6 separate regions of the Homo sapiens genome follow, and all the other regions are linked to region 4. The links are contacts of gene promoters, found by promoter capture Hi-C in blood cells and fetal thymus (Javierre and others, 2016). All regions are on one chromosome and are shown on one strand. Each heading gives the region's core, a stretch centred on a gene start or on the middle of the fragment in contact. The rest is flanking DNA. Distances are from core to core; before and after follow the strand shown. Region 1 has its middle 16 kb from the start of TRS-GCT1-1. Region 2 has its middle 4.3 kb from the start of MIR3143. Region 3 has its middle 2.2 kb from the start of TRI-AAT3-1. Region 4 holds the start of H4C13 (H4 clustered histone 13). Region 5 holds the start of TRV-CAC6-1 (tRNA-Val (anticodon CAC) 6-1). Region 6 has its middle 4.3 kb from the start of TRI-AAT5-2.

What was found. Contacts are between HindIII fragments. The CHiCAGO score rates a contact against its expected background, and 5 or more counts as called.
Region 1: a fragment that was not itself captured here is called in contact with the fragment with the promoter of H4C13 in region 4 in 1 of 17 cell types (activated CD4 T cells); the score reaches 5.1 in activated CD4 T cells.
Region 2: a contact is called between a fragment that was not itself captured here and the fragment with the promoter of H4C13 in region 4, in 17 of 17 cell types (non-activated CD4 T cells, naive CD8 T cells, naive CD4 T cells and 14 more). The highest score is 26.4, in non-activated CD4 T cells.
Region 3: a contact is called between a fragment that was not itself captured here and the fragment with the promoter of H4C13 in region 4, in 1 of 17 cell types (naive B cells). The highest score is 5.1, in naive B cells.
Region 5: a contact is called between a fragment that was not itself captured here and the fragment with the promoter of H4C13 in region 4, in 1 of 17 cell types (total CD4 T cells). The highest score is 5.2, in total CD4 T cells.
Region 6: a fragment that was not itself captured here is called in contact with the fragment with the promoter of H4C13 in region 4 in 13 of 17 cell types (activated CD4 T cells, total B cells, monocytes and 10 more); the score reaches 14.0 in activated CD4 T cells.

Annotation. Positions count from the first base shown.
Region 1 is chr6:27,111,630-27,114,723 of GRCh38, reverse strand. No RefSeq gene overlaps it. Among named protein-coding and RNA genes, the nearest start is that of TRS-GCT1-1, 16 kb to the right of the region's middle. The HindIII fragment of the contact is 1,876 bases long and covers 372-2,247 here.
Region 2 is chr6:27,150,504-27,153,250 of GRCh38, reverse strand. No RefSeq gene overlaps it. Among named protein-coding and RNA genes, the nearest start is that of MIR3143, 4.3 kb to the right of the region's middle. The HindIII fragment of the contact is 8,294 bases long and covers 1-2,747 here.
Region 3 is chr6:27,275,949-27,279,094 of GRCh38, reverse strand. No RefSeq gene overlaps it. Among named protein-coding and RNA genes, the nearest start is that of TRI-AAT3-1, 2.2 kb to the right of the region's middle. RefSeq lists a silencer at 2,443-2,613. The HindIII fragment of the contact is 5,617 bases long and covers 1-3,146 here.
Region 4 is chr6:27,872,061-27,874,843 of GRCh38, reverse strand. H4C13 (H4 clustered histone 13) reads left to right here and starts at 1,310. Exons shown (of 1, transcript NM_003546.3): 1 at 1,310-1,696. The coding sequence starts at 1,334. The coding sequence ends at 1,645. H3C11 (H3 clustered histone 11) reads left to right here and starts at 2,498. Exons shown (of 1, transcript NM_003533.3): 1 at 2,498-2,783. The coding sequence starts at 2,529. RefSeq lists enhancers at 1,030-1,079, 1,160-1,329, 1,630-1,679, 1,111-1,748. The HindIII fragment of the contact is 4,758 bases long and covers 1-2,240 here.
Region 5 is chr6:27,203,769-27,206,618 of GRCh38, reverse strand. TRV-CAC6-1 (tRNA-Val (anticodon CAC) 6-1) reads left to right here and starts at 459; the gene lies at 459-531. The HindIII fragment of the contact is 2,480 bases long and covers 285-2,764 here.
Region 6 is chr6:27,180,184-27,182,997 of GRCh38, reverse strand. No RefSeq gene overlaps it. Among named protein-coding and RNA genes, the nearest start is that of TRI-AAT5-2, 4.3 kb to the right of the region's middle. The HindIII fragment of the contact is 7,682 bases long and covers 1-2,814 here.

The DNA of each region.
Region 1 (3,094 bases), core at 60-2,559, 760 kb after region 4:
TGCTCTGTGGAGCACCCACTTTTCTGTATACTACTACTACAGGCTGTGCTGCCTGTGGGTTAGCACACAGGTCGCCCTTTGTTTATGGAGCAGTTTGCTGTACACTATTGGTCTAGGAAGTGTTTTTAAATTAACTCTGAAGCCAAAAGCCCTCCAGGGTTAAGTCCCAATTTTGGGGTTCACCTGTGTCAGCCTGGTGACCCTGAAGGAAGGAACCATCAAAATGAAGAGACCATGAAGGGAGCATCAAGATGAGCGGGTTGACCATCAAGATAAAGTTTGGAGTTGTGATACTGTAATGCTATATACTAGCCAAAGGCTCTTTTCAGAGCCATGTTTTCTTGGTGACTAACTGGTTGTACACTGAAGCTTTGGAAACCTTTGCCTGGACCCAAATTAATGGCCAATTGGCACCATGTGGTTTCTGTGATTTCCCTGTCATATTGACCTTTCTGGGTAAACCAGGAAATGAAAGTGGGGCCTCCAGCTAGTCCCATGTTCAGATTATGTCCCCATTGCCCCGTTTTTGACCATCGTCTATTAAATCTCTAATGACTGGCTACTTGATATTACCATTCAGTTCCTAAATGCATGGTTGTATGTCAGAGCCATGTTCCTTCTAGGATTGGGTTAGAGTCCCACTCTAGGGGGAATTTATTGGGTTATTGTCAGTCCCACTCTACGTGGCGTTAGAATTGAGAGTCCTGCCCTAGGGGCTTTGTTTTTTGGTCACCTTTCTAAGATTGGGGTTTAAATTTCCACTAAGGGTTCTTAATTTGGTCAGCGTTTTTTTACTTCCATACTTAAAGTGCCTTCTTTGTAACATTCCATTAGCTAGTGATGGTAGTTGCCAGCCCACTGCCCACTCATCTTTCACTTTTGTGGCACCTACTTCTTGATACCCATGTTCTTTTGGCAGGAGTCAGTGGTAATTTCCCTACTGCTCTTGAAGAAAAGGGAGGTGGAAATTTGAAAGGAAAAGTAACTGGACTCTCTGGACTTGGAAGAATTTCTGGGTTTAGTAGGTATCTCTGGTAGACATAACAACAGTGAGCGTCCTGAAACACTTCCTGCTAGGGTGCCTTTTAGGCAACTAAAGCAAATTCAAATTTGATGTCTTAAAAACTCATCTTCTATTATAACAGTGTTTAGTACAAATTAATTTCCCAAGAAATTTGGCCTAAAAATGGTTCACTCTCCCTGGAGCCTCCTTGGTGCCTTAATATGAGGAAGGGGGTCCTGCCAGTTCTCCACTACAGGATTCCATCCCAAGTTCATCAGGCACCCCTCTGCTTTAACCAACTAGCTCCAGCCTATATGCCATACTGCCTGAGGAAATAAGTCCAACCAGTCTAATCAGGAGTGATAAAGTCCTATCAGCCCTTAAAATCAAACTTACATCTATTGTGAGAGGTTGAGACGTTGCTAATGGCGGGAACAGTACTTGTGCCTTTTTCCATGTCTGATTTAGCTTCATGCAAGGGAAACATTGGCTGGTATCAGAGGATCCAGGGAAGTTTATAGTTTGATGTAACTTGGCATGACTTGCAAATAGTGTCCACCTGCTGTGCTGTAGAGGAGAAACAAGGGATTTTTGAATACTGCCTGGGCATATGCTGATGGAATGGCTGCTTGTAACCAGGATCATGCCATTTATTGTATGTGGGAGTGTACTTCCAGATTTGGACCCCCATGGGATTACCAGAGGGGTTCCTGAGATCTCAAATGTAGAAATCATAGGTAACTTGTTTAATAGAAGATATGAAAGTGTGCTTAATCCAGTTAATTATGACAAGGTTAGAGAAGTAACTGTAGGGGAGGATAAAAATCCTATTCTAGTCAGGGCTGTTTGGTTGAGGCACTCAGGAAATATTGCAGGACAGACTCCCCAGAAAGGCAAACTCTTTTATCACTCAGTCTGTCCTTGATGTTAGGAGGAAGCTATAACAGGCAGAAAGGGGAAACGCAAACTCCTATAAGCCAATTTTTAAATATGGCCTTTCCAGTTTACAACAATAGGCACAGGTCAAAACAGGCAGAGATAACCAAAAGAAATAATATCCAAAATGCAATTGTTAGTGACTACTTTAAGCACCCTCTCCCACCTCAGGGTTAGCCAGCCTGAGGAGATTTGAGATCAGCATCTCAGATGCCCAGATGAGAGCCCCGAACTTGCTGGCCCCAGGGCCAATATCACTGTGCCTTCTGTAAGCAAGAGGGCCATTGAAAAAGGGACTGTTCCAAGCTTCAAAGGGAGCCTAGGCTACCCAAACCCATAATGGCCAAGAAAACAAGACTGACCGGGCCCAAGGTCCCCCACAGCTCCCACTGGACACCTTACCATCTCCATGGAAGAGGCTTAGGTAACTTTTGAAGTGGCAAATAAAAATATTTAGTTAAAATGTGTTCTTATTGAGATAATAATTTTGTCAAATTCAGAAACTATATAAAGGTTGATTCAAATTATGGATTAGAAAAGGCTATGAAATAAGGAATCTATAAGTAGGAGAGAGATGTGAAGAAAGTTATGGATGTGGAGATGTATTTTTGGTAAGGAAGGTCATAAAGAATGATTGTATAAAGGAAGGTTATAAAGAAAAGAGCATAACTGTATATGAAAAAGGATCTTCAATTTTAAAAAATCAATATGAGAGGACTATTGCAGTATGAAAAGAAAATCTTATATGGTAAACTCTTGTTCTAGAGTCAAATTACTAGGTATTTAAGGAAGAGGTAGTATAGGACAAGTCAGAAAGTCCAAGCATATCACAGATGGTCTTTGTAAGTTGTGACAAGGTTTGTGAAGGGGAATATATAAAAGGAATTTTGTATATGATTCTTAGGAATAATTAAAAGGGAACTGTTTATAATAGTCTTTCTAAAGAATGGTCCCCTCTTTTAAAACAAGGTTTTATGGCCAGGCACGGTGGGTTGCACCTGTAATCCCAGCACTTTGGGAGGCCAAGGCAGGTGGATCACGAGGTCAGGAGTTTGAGACCAGCCTGGCCAATATGGTGAAACCCCATCTCTACTAAAAATACAAAAATTAGCAGGGCATGGTGGTGCGCGCCTCTAGTCCCAGCTGCTCAGGAGG
Region 2 (2,747 bases), core at 109-2,608, 720 kb after region 4:
TAGGTTCAAGCGATTCTTCTGCCTCAGCCTCCCAAGTAGCTGGGATTACAGGCGGCCACCACCATGCCCAGCTAATTTTTGTATTTTTAGTAGAGACGGGGTTTCACCATGTTGGCCAGGATGGTCTTGATATCCTGACCTTGTGATATGCCCACCTCGGCCTCCCAAAGTGCTGGGATTACAGGCGTGAGCCACCGTGCCCGGCCCACTGTCCCCTTCTTTCATCCTGTGTCCCTAGGAGGCTGATCTATACATGAATTTGATCCTTGTCCTTTGGCTGCTGGTCAAATTTGGCTGATGAAAAGTGAAAATATGTCAGAGAGAGGAAGGAGTTCTTTCTGTTTCCAGATTTCCTTTCCTCTCATTGCCCCTTTGGGCCTAGGTGTGGTAATTACTTATATATGGTATTAGCTTCAAAATACTGCACTATCTCTTGTGGCTTCCTAACACCTTGCTCACTTCTTTTTCAATCTTCAAGCACCCAATTGGTTGTTGTTGTTGTTGTTGTTGTTTGTTTGTTTTTTGAGACGGAGTCTTGCTCTGTCACCCAGGCTGGAGTGCAGTGGTGCAATCTCAGCTCACTGCAACCTCCGCCTCCTGGGTTCAAGGTCCTGCCTCAGTCTCCTGAGTAGCTGGGATTACAGGTGCCCACCACCACGCCTGGCTAATTTTTTTGTATTTTTAGTAGAGACGGGGTTTCACCATGTTGGCCAGGCTGGCCTCGAACTCTGGACCTCAAGTGATCTGCCCGCCTCGGCCTCCCAAAATGTTGGGGTTACAGGCATGAGTCACTGCATCAGGCCCAAAGTACCCAATTTGAAGGACTAATCTCTCCTGATGGGACACTGGCTGACATATTGACCTCTTTTAGCTTATATGCTGCTGTGTTTACAGATATTAAATGAAAATACAAATAAGATATTTACTTTCAAAATATAGTCATTGACATGGAGTTTAAACCCATAAGAACAGATGATCTTAGCCAAAAGGCTGAAAACACTTGGTCTTAGCCAAAAGGCTGAGAAGCGGTGATGATGTGGAGTTTAAGAACCTGATCTGGGCTGGGCGCGGAAGATCACGCCTCTAATCCCAGCACTTTGGGAGGCTGAGGCCGGCAGATCACGAGGTCAGGAGATTGAGACTGTCCTGGCTAACACAGTGAAACCCCATCTGTAGAAAAAATACAAAAAACCTAGCAGGGAGCGGTGGCACGCGCCTGTAATCCCAGCTACTTGGGAGGCTGAGGTAGGAGAATCACTTGAACCCAGGAGGCGGAGGTTGCAGTGAGCGAAGATCGCGCCACTGCACTCCAGCCTGGACTACCGAGCAAGACTCCGTCTCAAAAAAATAAAAAAAGAACTTGATCTGGTAAACCCAGAAGGCATAACGAGAACTAAGAATAAGAGAATACCTCATTGAGGAGGTGCCATATTATGAAAATTGAAGAATGAATAGGAGTTACCCAAGGAGAGGCTGGTAGGACAAACACTCTGGGCTTGGGAAATCGCAAGTGCAAAGCTACAGGAGTACCAGATAGAATCAGACAGACCAATCCCTGAATACACTTTCTAATTCCAGTCCGTTAATTTTATTAAATCTTACAGCTTCAAGTAAATTAGAAAATGCACTGGTTTCTTCAAAAATGGCAATTTTGCTGTGAATAGAAAAAAGTTAGCAATTCTGCTGTGAATAAAGTTAGCTTTTAATAAGTCAAGCAATATCAACGTACACCAGCAATTTTACCTCCTTTTTTTTTTTTTTTTTTTTTTTTTGGTGTTTTCCTTTGTGTGATTCCAAGGCATATTTGGGATCTCAAGTTGATTTACTGATGGCCAGTTCTGAGTCCAGATACCAGTCAGCCTTGTAAACAATCACTATTCCTCCCAGGTGTTTACTATTACACATAGAATCTAGCTTCCCAGGTAAGTGAAGCCATGTCAATAGTTAGCCTGATATAAAATTATATTATTCCGTCTTTAGTTAAGCACCCTTCATTATCCATAATCACATATATTTCCCATATTTTGTCATTGTTAATTATTTAAATCATGCAGCTCCTCTGGGGTATAAACCTTCACATATTTTTAGATGTGACTTTACTATTTTGATTTTCTCAGAATTATTCCTTACAAGGAATGCATGACAACGACTCCATCTGTAATAGGTATGAAGATGAGGGGGAAGGGCGGAACTGAGGAAAAGCATGTATGTATGCATTTTAAAAATTGTGTGTGTTTTAAAAATATATTTTTTTAAAGTATATATTTTAAGTGTGATTCCCATTTTCAGGAATCTTTAGCTATTCACTTTAAACTATTGTAAACACTGTTTGAATAATTAAGTCTAGTTTTATTCTTTCTCATTTGGTATCTATTAATTCAGATATGATCATGATACTCTTCTGGTAGAACCTTTCAACATCTCCCTTTAACAATTCTTACCCAAGTTTCTATATACCTTAGACTAAAGCACATGAGACCAGATAGTTAAGAGAAGGCAGTTATGTGTGTGTTCCATGTTGAGTAGATAATATTCTGATAGCTTTTTCTCCTACTAATTGAGAATCTGATTGGATAAGTAACACCACACTTTCTTTTCCAAATTAGAGTCCAAACAATACCCACCTCAAAAGGTTGTGAGAAATAAATAAGCACATTCATATTGCATATGTAGCCCATAAGTGGTCGGCACCAAATATCTCTTATAGGTGTTTTTTTTTTTTTTTTTTTTTTTTTTGAGCTGGAGTC
Region 3 (3,146 bases), core at 202-2,701, 600 kb after region 4:
TAAAGGATCATTGTAGCTCCAGAGCTCCCCATGGGAATGGTTGAGTCCTCTTTTGTATATCATTCCTGGATACACAATAGACTTCCTTCATGAAAACTATATCCTGGAGTCTGTTTCTCATAGAATACAATAACCTAATGCAATCTTTTTTTTTTTTTTTTTTTTTTTTTTGAGACGAAGTCTCGCTCTGTCGCCCAGGCTGGAGTGCAGTGGCTCGATCTCGGCTCACTGCAAGCTCTGCCTCCCGGGTTCACGCCAGTCTCCTGCCTCAGCCTCCCGAGTAGCTGGGACTACAGGCGCCTGCCACCACGCCTACCTAATTTTTTGTATTTTTAGTAGAGACGGGGTTTCACCATGTTAGCCAGGATGGTCTCAATCTCCTGACCTCGTGATCAGCCCGCCTCGGCCTCCCAAAGTGCTGGGATTACAGGCGTGAGCCACCGCGCCCGGCTAATGCAATCTGAATATAAAACCGAATATAGTCCCCTATAGTCTATTTACAAAAGACCTACTAAAAGCAGTATTTTAAAGCATGTATCAGATTTGCCTCTCCTAAAATCAGAATTATACAATAGCTTCCCGTTCTACTTGAATTAAAGCCAAATTCCTAAGATCTCCTACAAGATCCTATATACTCCGATCCTTCATTTCTCTCTGATCTCATCTCTATTACTGTCTCCCTCTCTTGTACTCTGGCCACATGAACCCTTTTACTGTTCCTCAAACATTCCATGCAAGTACCCACCTTTAGACTTTTATAGTGGTTGTACTCTGCTTGTGACACCTCACATGTCAGGTGGCTTGATTGCTCCTTTTCTTCCAGTCACAATCTTATTAAGGCTATACTAACAACTCTAGCTTTCCAACCTACTCTCATCACTCCAGTTCTTCCTACCTGCCTCTATTTACCAATCACATTTAACACCTTCTTACACATTTTATAATTCACATTTTTATTATGTTTGTTATTTATATCTGTTTCCATACTCTATGAGGGCAGATATTTCATTGGCCCGGTACTAGTGATGTGTTGCTATAGTTCCCTGATGCCTGTCAAGTGTCTAGAACTGGACCTGTGCGGTTGTTACACAAAGTTAAAGAGATCTTTTTAAAACGTGAATCTGGCTGGGCGCGGTGGCTCTCACCTGTAATCCCGGCACTTTGGGAGGCCGAGGCGGGTGGAACATTTGAGGTCAGGAGTTCCAGACCAGTCTGGCCAACATGGCGAAATTCCGTCTCTACTAAAAATACGAAAAAAAAAAAAATGGCTGAGTGTGGTGGCGCATGCCTGTAATCCCAGCTACTGAGGAGCCTGAGGCAGGAGAATCGCTTGAACCCGGGAGGTGGAGGTTGCAGTGAGCTGAGATCGCTCCACTGTACTCCAGCCTGGGAGACAGAGTCAGACTCCGTCTCAAAAATAAATAATAAACAAATTTTAAAAATGTGAATCCGTCCATGTGACTTTTCTGCCTAAAATCCTTGCATAGTTTCCCATTGTTGTTAAGACCAATTCAAAAATCCTTAACTTGGCCTATAGTGATCATAGTTCTTAGTTTAGACTTAATGTAGATCAATTAACACCTGATAATTCCTTTTTTATTTTTATTTATTTATTTTAGACGGAGTCCTGCTCTGTCGCCCAGGCTAGAGTGCAGTGGCGCTATCTTGGCTCACTGCAAGCTCCGCCTCCCAGGTTCACGTCATTCTCCTGCCTCAGCCTCCCGAGTAGCTGGGACTACAGGCGCCCGCCACCAAGCCCAGCTAATTTTTGCATTTTTAGTAGAGATGGCGTTTCACCATGTTAGCCAGGCTGGCCTCTAACTCCTGACCTCAGGTGATCCTCCCACCTCGGCCTCCCAAAGTGCTGGGATTACAGGCGTGAGCCACCGCGCCCGGCCAATTTATTTTTAGTGCCCCATCCACTTACCATCAAGTATTCTGATTCATTTATAGTAATCTACTAGAGGGTTTTGCATCATGTATTGATAAATGTTCTTTCTTCCTCAGACTTCATCTCCTACTACTCGCCCTGTACCACTCTGCAGCTCAGTCTTAATCTCCAGACAGAATGACGTGTCTTAGTTCCTGTCCCTCAGGTGTTTCTGCCCGTGTTGTACTCTCCTAGGTGCACAAAATAAGGCCACTGTTGGCTCCTTCTCCGTGCTGTCCCCTCAGCCCCTTCCTTCTCCCGCCTGATTCTATCACATTCCCTTTACGTCATTACTTGTACCCCCAAAACAATGTTCCAGAATCTAGTATGCCCCAACTAGACAATCTACATACCGATTGCCTAGTTTCGCTTCGAATTTGTAGCAGGGAATTCAGGAAGAAGGTGTAGAAATGTGTCCAGGATTGGCCGGGCGCAGTGGCTCACGCCTGTAATCCCAGCACTTTGGGAGGCCAAGGGGGCGGATAACCTGAGGTCAGGAGTTCGAGAACAGCCTGGGCAACACGGTGAAACCCCGTCTGTACTAAAAGTACAAAATTAGCCGGGAGTGGTGACACATGCCTGTAATCCCAGCTACTCGGGAGCCTGAGGCAGGAGAATCGCTTGAACCTGGGAGGCAGTGAGCCGAGATCGCGCCATTGCACTCCAGCCTGAGCAACAAAAGTAAATCTCCGTCTCACCGGAAAAAAAAAAAGCAAAAGAAAAGAAATGTGTTCAGGATCATATTAGTGCTAAGTATAGTTAAAACAAACAAGCAAGCAAAAAGAGTATTGGGATCAACCCTCTAAAGCACAGTGTGACAATGGCCATCAAAATTGCCAATGTACATGTTCTTTGATGCAGCCTTTCCACATGTGCGAAGTATCATGGCATACATCAGATACGGTGTATGCTCATAGATACCAAAAATTTGCAATAGGAGGATGGAAGTCTAAGCTATGCCTATTAAACTATGGTATATACTCATATAGCTGAATACTATGCATATTTAAAAGAGAATGAACACTTTTCTGTTGTGATATGAAAGAATTGCAAAAATATATTCTGAGTTAAAAAAAAAGCAAAGGATTTAAAAAGTAGATAAAATGCCACTATTTGTGAAGAGAAAAAAGAAAACATTTGTTTAACTTTGGCTATGCGTTAAAAATCTCTGGAACGATAAAGAAGATATTAAAAACAATTGTAATATTTTTAGGAG
Region 4 (2,783 bases), core at 61-2,560:
GTAGTTCATAATGTACTTGCAGAGACTGATTTTTAGAATAAAATTAGATATTTGCTAAAGAGGTAAATAATCATACACATTTGAAATATAAAAGGTAAACATTACTGAGAAACGAAATCTGATAGCTGGAAGGCAGGGCAAGGCAGAGCCAGCCTAGGTCAGGAAGGTCACACAACATTTATTTGAAACTTTTTTTTGAGACGGACTCTTACTTTGTTGCCCAGGCTGGAGTGCATGGAGTGCAGGGGCTCGATCTTGGCTCACTGCAACCTCCGCCTTCTGCGTTCAAGCGATTTTCTTGCCTCAACCTCCTGAGTAGCTGGGATTATGGGCGCCCTCCACCACGCCAGGCCAATTTTCTTTATTTTTAGTAGAGAAGGGGTTTCGCCATCTTAGCCAGGCTGGTCTCGAACTCCTGACCTTGTGATCCACATGCATCGGCCTCCCTTCTGGCTGGGATTACAGGCGTGAGCCACCGCGTCCGGCCATTTGAAACTCTTTTTCTTGGAATAAAGTCATCCTCGGTCTTTTCCTCCTGCACTTTATTTGTAAATGTAAAAGACAGGGTTTCTGGGCACAGCTGATTTCCTAGTTCAACAGAAAAGAGGAACATGAGGGAGCTCAAGCGGCACCTTCACAATTCTAAGGAAATACAGGGTAAAAGCCACCTTTCTTTCTCAAACAGCTTCCTGAAGTGTTTCTAGGTGGAATGAGGAAAAAAAAATAGAAAGTTCTTGCCCCAAAAATGTGGTTGGCGAGGGAGAGAAAGGAACAGAAAGGACAGCTACAGAAAGAGTAAAATATAAGGAAAAGAATAGAGAACCAAATTTGAGAAAGGTGAGGAATCCCACCTTGGAGCTATCATCAGGCGTCGTCTTTTGCAGTCAGCCACTCCATAGGCTGATCACTTCGAGTTTGTACGGAAGCAGTTTCTACACGCTATTTCACAAATGCCCGAAACGACTGTGATTACCCCTCTAGAGATGGCGCCATTTGATTCCAGCAGCCACAAAGCACTAGAACAATCGATGCTAAGAGGTGACAGGAAAAACAGGCTGCAAAGACCCAGACAATGGAATGCAGCGGTGGTCAGCCTAAAACACTGTAGAAGGGCAAGATGAGCTGAGTAATTTTTAACTGGGCATCATTTTTAGAAACTGGAGTTTAAGTACCCCCTTTTCCATTTTTTCCTGAAGTCGTGGGCAGGGCGCAAGGTCTGTGAATCGGCCGACCGGATGCAGCTGGTGTGGAGAGTTCCCAATCAGGTCCGATTTATTACTATATAAAGTACTGCTGCGAGGCTTGCCGTGTTGCATTTTGTTTAGTACAAGACATGTCTGGGCGCGGCAAAGGCGGGAAGGGTCTGGGCAAAGGAGGCGCTAAGCGCCACCGCAAAGTTCTGCGCGACAACATTCAGGGCATCACCAAGCCCGCCATCCGACGCCTGGCACGGCGTGGAGGCGTTAAGCGCATCTCAGGCCTTATATACGAGGAGACACGCGGAGTTCTTAAAGTGTTTTTGGAGAATGTAATCCGCGATGCAGTTACCTACACGGAGCACGCCAAACGCAAGACAGTCACAGCCATGGACGTGGTTTACGCGCTCAAGCGCCAGGGCCGCACCCTGTATGGCTTTGGCGGCTGAGTGTTTTACTTACTTACACGGTTCCTCAAAGGCCCTTCTCAGGGCCACCCATGAAGTCTGTGAAAGAGCTGTAGACTAAAGATAGTTAATTTCTTAAGAACACTTAAACGTATGGCAGTTTTGGCAAATTAGCGATTCCACATAAGCAGTCGCTGAAGTTTGAGGTTCGGTGCCCCTTTCAGCATTACTTAGTGGTTAAAAGTGCCGGCTTCTCTGATACACGGCCAAATCTATAACGCCTCTCTGGTTTTTGCAAAAGTCATAATGAAACAGCCGGTCTCATTTATCTTGTATCGATTACTTTACCGCTACCAATGCGAGGGCTGTGTAACTATGACACTGTGGTCCGCAACGCCCAAAATGTTTTAATATCGCCCTTTACAGAAAAAGTCGGCCAACTTCTAAAACATTAAGTACGTTTAAATTTGAGAAATACTGGCATACCACAACGCTCGAATTTCATATCCCCTTCAATGCCTCCATTTACAAATTTACTCTAGTTTCACTTTTCCTTTACGTTCTTTAACTTTTTGTCAAATCAGTAATGACACCTCGTAATTAAAATAGTGCAAGGCAAGTTTAGATTTATCAAGCTTATATTTAAACAGGATTTTGATGCATGAAAAATCCTAGACTTTTGGGGGATTTTTTTTTGTTTCCGTTTTTGTTTTTCTTTAGCTAGCAAAACCATTTTACGTTTCTTGACCCAAAACAGAGGCGGAATGTCTCCCTTTCACTAGCAGATTAAACTGGGAGCCAATTCCGTGTGTGAGACGTGGCATGGCACAGTCTACTGTCCAATCAGAACGCGAGGGCAGCTATAAATACCGGGATGATCAGTTTTTTTCTCTCATTTGTGTTGAGTAGGTACGTCTACTTAGCCATGGCACGAACAAAGCAAACAGCTCGCAAGTCCACCGGCGGCAAAGCGCCGCGCAAGCAGCTGGCCACCAAGGCGGCTCGCAAGAGCGCTCCGGCCACCGGTGGCGTCAAGAAGCCCCACCGCTACCGCCCCGGCACCGTGGCCCTGCGCGAGATCCGCCGCTACCAGAAGTCGACCGAGCTGCTAATCCGGAAGCTACCTTTTCAGCGCTTGGTACGGGAGATCGCACAGGACTTTAAGACCGATCTGCGCTTC
Region 5 (2,850 bases), core at 275-2,774, 670 kb after region 4:
TATATTTCCCAGAAGCCATGACTACTTCTAGTTATTTGACTGCAAACAAAATGATGAGAGCAGCTATGGCAGAAAGTGCTGATGGCCTCCAATCATCTCCTGGTCTCAGGTCGCTCCTTCATGGTTTTCCCAAAAGTCACCAAGATATGACTATCGGGGCGGGTTTTGCAGATAAAGAAACGTGCATAGACAGCATAGGGAGGTCTTGAAATAAAATTCTGTAGCATTCCGTTCTAGCTTTCCATGTTTGAAATTTGTGCGGGAATTGGAGCCCTGGGGAAGCTTGGTTATGAATTGCTTTTCTTTTCGAAAACAGTAAAAGGAGAGAACTGCACCACAACGATCATTTTCTAAACAGACGTATAAGGCAGTCCAGGCCCTTCAGGCAAAGCCCTCTTAGTTAAGCGGCGGGGTGGGGATGGGGGCGGGGGGGATGTGGGTAACCCTTTCCCACAGTTGTTTCCGTAGTGGAGTGGTTATCACGTTCGCCTCACACGCGAAAGGTCCCCGGTTTGAAACCAGGCGGAAACATTCTTTACTCGTTTGGTAGATTTTCTACTCCATAAAAATATAAATGTTTAAGAAAAATCAAACTGATAAATTTGCCAGACTTTGAAAACAGGAGCTCTCCCTGAGAAGCTCTCGCAGCCACGTGGTTTCGCCACTGTAAAAGAGCTTTCCCCCTCTCCCTGTCACTTCTGCGGGGTTTCCTCTAGGTCTAAAAGGGGTCCTTGGAAGAGTGTAAGAGAAAGGAACCGGGCCACGGGCATGGTTGTTACTTACTTTCGGAATCTGGATTTCTTTGAAATGCAAGAACAGCTCCGCCTTTAAACCAAGTGGCGACTACCCGGGCGTCCGGCAGTGACATTAGCCGGGCAATTCATCTCTTGCTGGATAAATATTTTCAACCAAAATTTACTTACCACCTGCATGGTGAGAGGGGAATGTTGCAGTGGGTGGGAGAGTGCTGGAGGATAATGCAAAGCACCTGTCCTTAAGAACTGACAAGGACCTCGGGCAGGTAACAAGAATCCTGTTAAGTCTGTTTAGCCGGAATGCCCCTTATCCTTGATGCTGCCTCTTAGCCCAGGACGCAGGTGGCAGCGGGCTGCGATCTGAGGCTCTTCGGTTAAGGACACTTATTAAATCATGGTAAGAGAGACTTTATTCAGGACCACCATGGTAGGTAATAGGGTCCACAAAGGAGTCTTGCAGTAGAGAAGAGATTGGGCTCAACTCTGAATACTGCATGGACAAGTGGGAATTTATAGCCAAGGATCGGGGTGGTGGGTGGTCAGTGGATGGAAAATTACTAAGAGGAAGCATCAGGGGTAAGGGGATTCTGGCTGAACAGACCTAACAGGATTCTTGCTGAAGACAGGCCAGGGCCATCAGACCTTACCTGGGGGATGGTGGAGGATGAGGAACCTGATCAGCTATGGAGGGGGAGCAGATATCAAGGGTAGGGGATTGTTGTTAAACTGATTTATCAGGGTTCTTGCTAAAACTGGTTTTACAAGGAAGAACACAGATGGGCCCTGGAGACAGTTCAGGAGCCTGACTAAAGTTTGACCAAACAAATAATCTTTGTCAACCTCCACAGTTGTGTGAACCTATGCCTTAAAATAAATATCTTTCTGTATATACACACCTCCTATTGGTTCTGTTTCTCTGGAGAACCCTGATTAATACAACTGTTACTATTTTTTAAAAGTAGCTCTTCAAGAGATAGTAAAGATCACCCAATTCAATTTCAACAGCAGCATTCCAATCTAAGTGGTTTAAAAGAAGTTTCAGCCGGGTGCCTTGGCTCACGCCTGTAATCCCAGCACTTTGGGAGGCCCAGGTGGGTGGATTACCTGAGGCCAGGAGTTGGAGACCAGCCTGACCAACATGGTGAAACTCTGTCTCTACTAAAAATACAAAAAATCAGCCAAGCGTCATGGTGCGTGCCTGTAATCCTAGCTACTCAGGATGCTGAGGCAGGAGAATCGCATGAACCTGAGGGGCAGAGGTTGCAATGAGCCGAGATCACACCACTACACTCTTTAGCCTGGGTGACAGAGCAAGACGCTGTCTCAAAAAAAAAAAAAAAAGAAAAAGAGTTTCGATCCTGCAATTTTATGAGAAGAGGGTCCTATGAAGAAGACTATGACAAGTATCAGAGGAATAGAAAGAAAGTCAGGACAACTGATATTGCAGAAGCCAAAGGAGTAGTTCTGGAATAAACAATAGTAGAGGTAATTCAAGCAAGTGATCAGAAATGCAAACACTACATAGGAATTTGTGGCAAAAAGCTCTGGAAATATAGTTATGAATAAAACAGAGTTCCTGTTTTGGGGAGCTTTCTTGCAACCACCAAGTAAATAACTAAATAAGATAATTCAGATGATGGGGTTCAGAACATGCTACCCCGAGATATGACATCTTGACATTTGACAAAACCACAGAAGCAAGTAGGTCACTCTCACTTTTCCGTAGCCCTTCTCCCCTAAAGCAGGTCAGGAGATCTTCATTCCAGAGGTGCCCTTCCTATAACTGGAGGAAAGGAACATGTTTTTCTCTGAAGACACAGGGACACACAGAAGAACCTGAACAAGTAAGCCTTGCTAAATTCCCCCAGTTTATTATCCTTACATCACACCCTCTTTGTACAATTATACTTCTGCATAACTATCTTCTCTTCGTCAACCTATCATAAAACTACAAATGTTTCCCTGTTTCTTTAGGTCTTCATTTCTAGTCTCTCATATCACACAAAGCTTATGTTAAATACACTTGTATGCTTTTCTCTTGTTTAATCTGTATTTTGTTATAGAGGCCTCAGCCATGAACTTGGTGAGAAAAGAT
Region 6 (2,814 bases), core at 94-2,593, 690 kb after region 4:
AATAGTTCCTTCCTGATTCTGCAGGGATTTTAAGGCTTGGTTTAATGCAAAGAGTTCACATATTTGGGCAGACCACTTATTTGGCAGTCTTTCTGACTCTACCACTGTGAGGGTTTCCCTATCAACTATGGAGTACCCGTTGTGCCTTTTTCCTTCAATGACCTGGGAGGAGCCGTCTATAAAGAGGTGATGCCCTGTTTGGAAGGGGGTTTCATGCCTGGATGCGGTCTGACTCTAGTTTGAAAACTGATTAGATCTAAGCAGTTATGCTCACATTCCTCCTGGTTTGGATTTCCTGTTAGGAAAGCAGCGGGGTTGAGTGAATTGTCAGTGGTTAGTGTTAGGTTATCTCCCTCTAATAAGATAGCTTCATATTTTAAAATCCTTGAGTCAGTGAGCCATCTCCCTGCCTTCTGATTAAGAATGGTTCTGACTTGATGAGGGGCACTTACGAAGAGGTTTCCCCCAAAGGTTATTTTCCTGCTTTCTTCTGTTAGCAAGGCAGTTGCTGCTATGGATTGAACACATTCGGGCCATCCACGGGTTACTGGGTCAAGGATTTTTGACAGAAAGACTACAGGCTGCCGGTGGCCTCCATGTTTTTGGGTGAGTACCCCTAAGGCCACTCCTTTGCTTACATTAATGAAAAGATGGAATGGCTGTTCTAAGGAGGGCAAAGTTAGAACAGGGGCAGTTACAAGTAGGTGTTTTAATTCTTTTACCGTTGGATCTCTGATGGGGTCCAAAGGAGGGGGTCTGGTCCTTCTTGAGTGAGTTTTTGATATAGGGGCTTTGTTTTTAAGGCATAAGAGTCAGTCCACAGATGACAATATCCAACCAATCCTAATAATTTCCTAAGTTCCTGCTTTGTTTCAGGTAAAGGCAAAGACAGGATACCTTCAATTCGTTCGGATCCTATCTTTCGTTCACCTTTACTGATTAGGTGTCCTAGATATTTTACCTCAGATTCTATGAATTGGATGTTGTTCTTTGAGACCCGTAATCCTTGTCCCCTTAGGAAATTTAGGAAGTTAACTGAAATTGCTGTTACTTGATCCTTGTTATCTCCTGAAATGAGCAGGACATCTACGTATTTGAGTAGGCATATGGATGAAGGCAGGGAGAAGTTTTCTAGGACTTGCTCTAAAATATGACCAAATAGATTTGGGGACTCTGTAAACCTTGGGGCAAGACTGTCCATCGACCGGAGTGAGGGTCCTCTCACTCAAAGGCAAATTTGTCCCAGCTGTCCTCTGCTAAAGGGCAAGCCCAAAAGGCATCATTTAAATCTGTCACCGTGAACCATTGGTGGTTATGCGGGATTCTACTGAAAATGGTGTAAGGATTGGGAACAACAGGGTGGATGGTCTGAACTATTTGGTAAATAGCCCAGAGGTCTTGCACTAGCTGGTATGACCCGTCTGACTTCCTTACAGGCAATATTGGAGTGTTATAAGGGGACATACAGGGTTCAAGTCTTTCAATTACAGGTTTTAAAACTATCCTGGTTTTAAACCTATCCTGGCTTCCAAGGGAATAGGGTATTGTTTTCGTGGACAAGGCTTTCAATTATAGGTTATAAACCTATCCTGGCTTCCAAGGGAATAGGGTATTGTTTTTGTTTCACTATTTCCCCAGGAGTTTTTAATTTGACATGGATTGGAGGAACCCATCCTCGATTCCCTTCTTTCGACCATACGTTGGGATGGATGCGGCTTTCTTCTGAAGTGGTGAGTACGTTTAAGGAAGTAAGGAGTTTTCCTTGATTAACATATAGGCCTGTGCCTAACCTTAACATTAAGTCCCTTCCTAATAAATTAGTTCCTGCTTCAGGAATTAAGAAGAACTTAGTAGCAACCGACTTATTCTTATATTTGACTTCGGTTTCCTCTAGAATTTTTGCTCTGAATCCTTCCCCTTTAACTCCTGAGACAGTAAGGTCTTCGGCTGAACAGGATAAATCTGATGGGAGAAAACATAGGCAGGAGCCAGCTGCTCCCGAATTGACCAGGAAAGTGACTATTTCCAATTTGGGTCCCACCGTTAAATTTATCAAGGGCTCTTGGTGGGACTCAAGATGGAAGACGTAGAGCCCCTGAGCCCACTGTTCTTCAAATGTCATGAGTGAAAGGACTTTCTTTTCCCTCTCCCATTCGGGACATTTCCTCTTAAAATGTCCTGGCTTTCCACATCTGAAACATCTGTTTTTCCTTCTCCCCCTCCTGGTTCCCTGATTCTCAGGTTTCGTCCCTTTGCTTCCTGTATAGGGTCTGGCAGCCTGGTACTCAGAAGGTTTACAAGTTCTATTTCCCTGGGATGCCTGTTGAAAAGTTCCCTGTTGTAGGGTGGACAGCATAATTTTTGCCTTTTGCTTCTGCCTTTCCTCATCCCTCCGTACATATACCTTTTGGACCTCTCTTTAAAGTTCCTCTATGGGACAGTCTTTCTAATTTTCTATCTTTTATAATTTCTTTATAGTGTCTGGCCAACTATTGGTGACAAAGTGGAGCTTTAACATCCTTTGTCCTAGTGGGTCCTCTATGTCCAAACCTGCGTATTTTCTTATCTGTTCCTTAAGTCTGTTTAAGAATTCCATGGGCCCTTCATCTTTCTCTTGCTGTACATTAAATGCTTGGGAAATGTTTTGGGTTGGAGGAACTGATTCCTGAATCCCTTTAATTATCATATCCCTATCTCTCATGTTTTCCCGGTGAGCCGCACTGTTGTTATCCCATTGAGGGTCCTGGGCCGGGAATTTATGCTCTGCTGCAAGGACATTCTGACGAGGGGGGTGCTTGCGCTCCCAGGCTATCA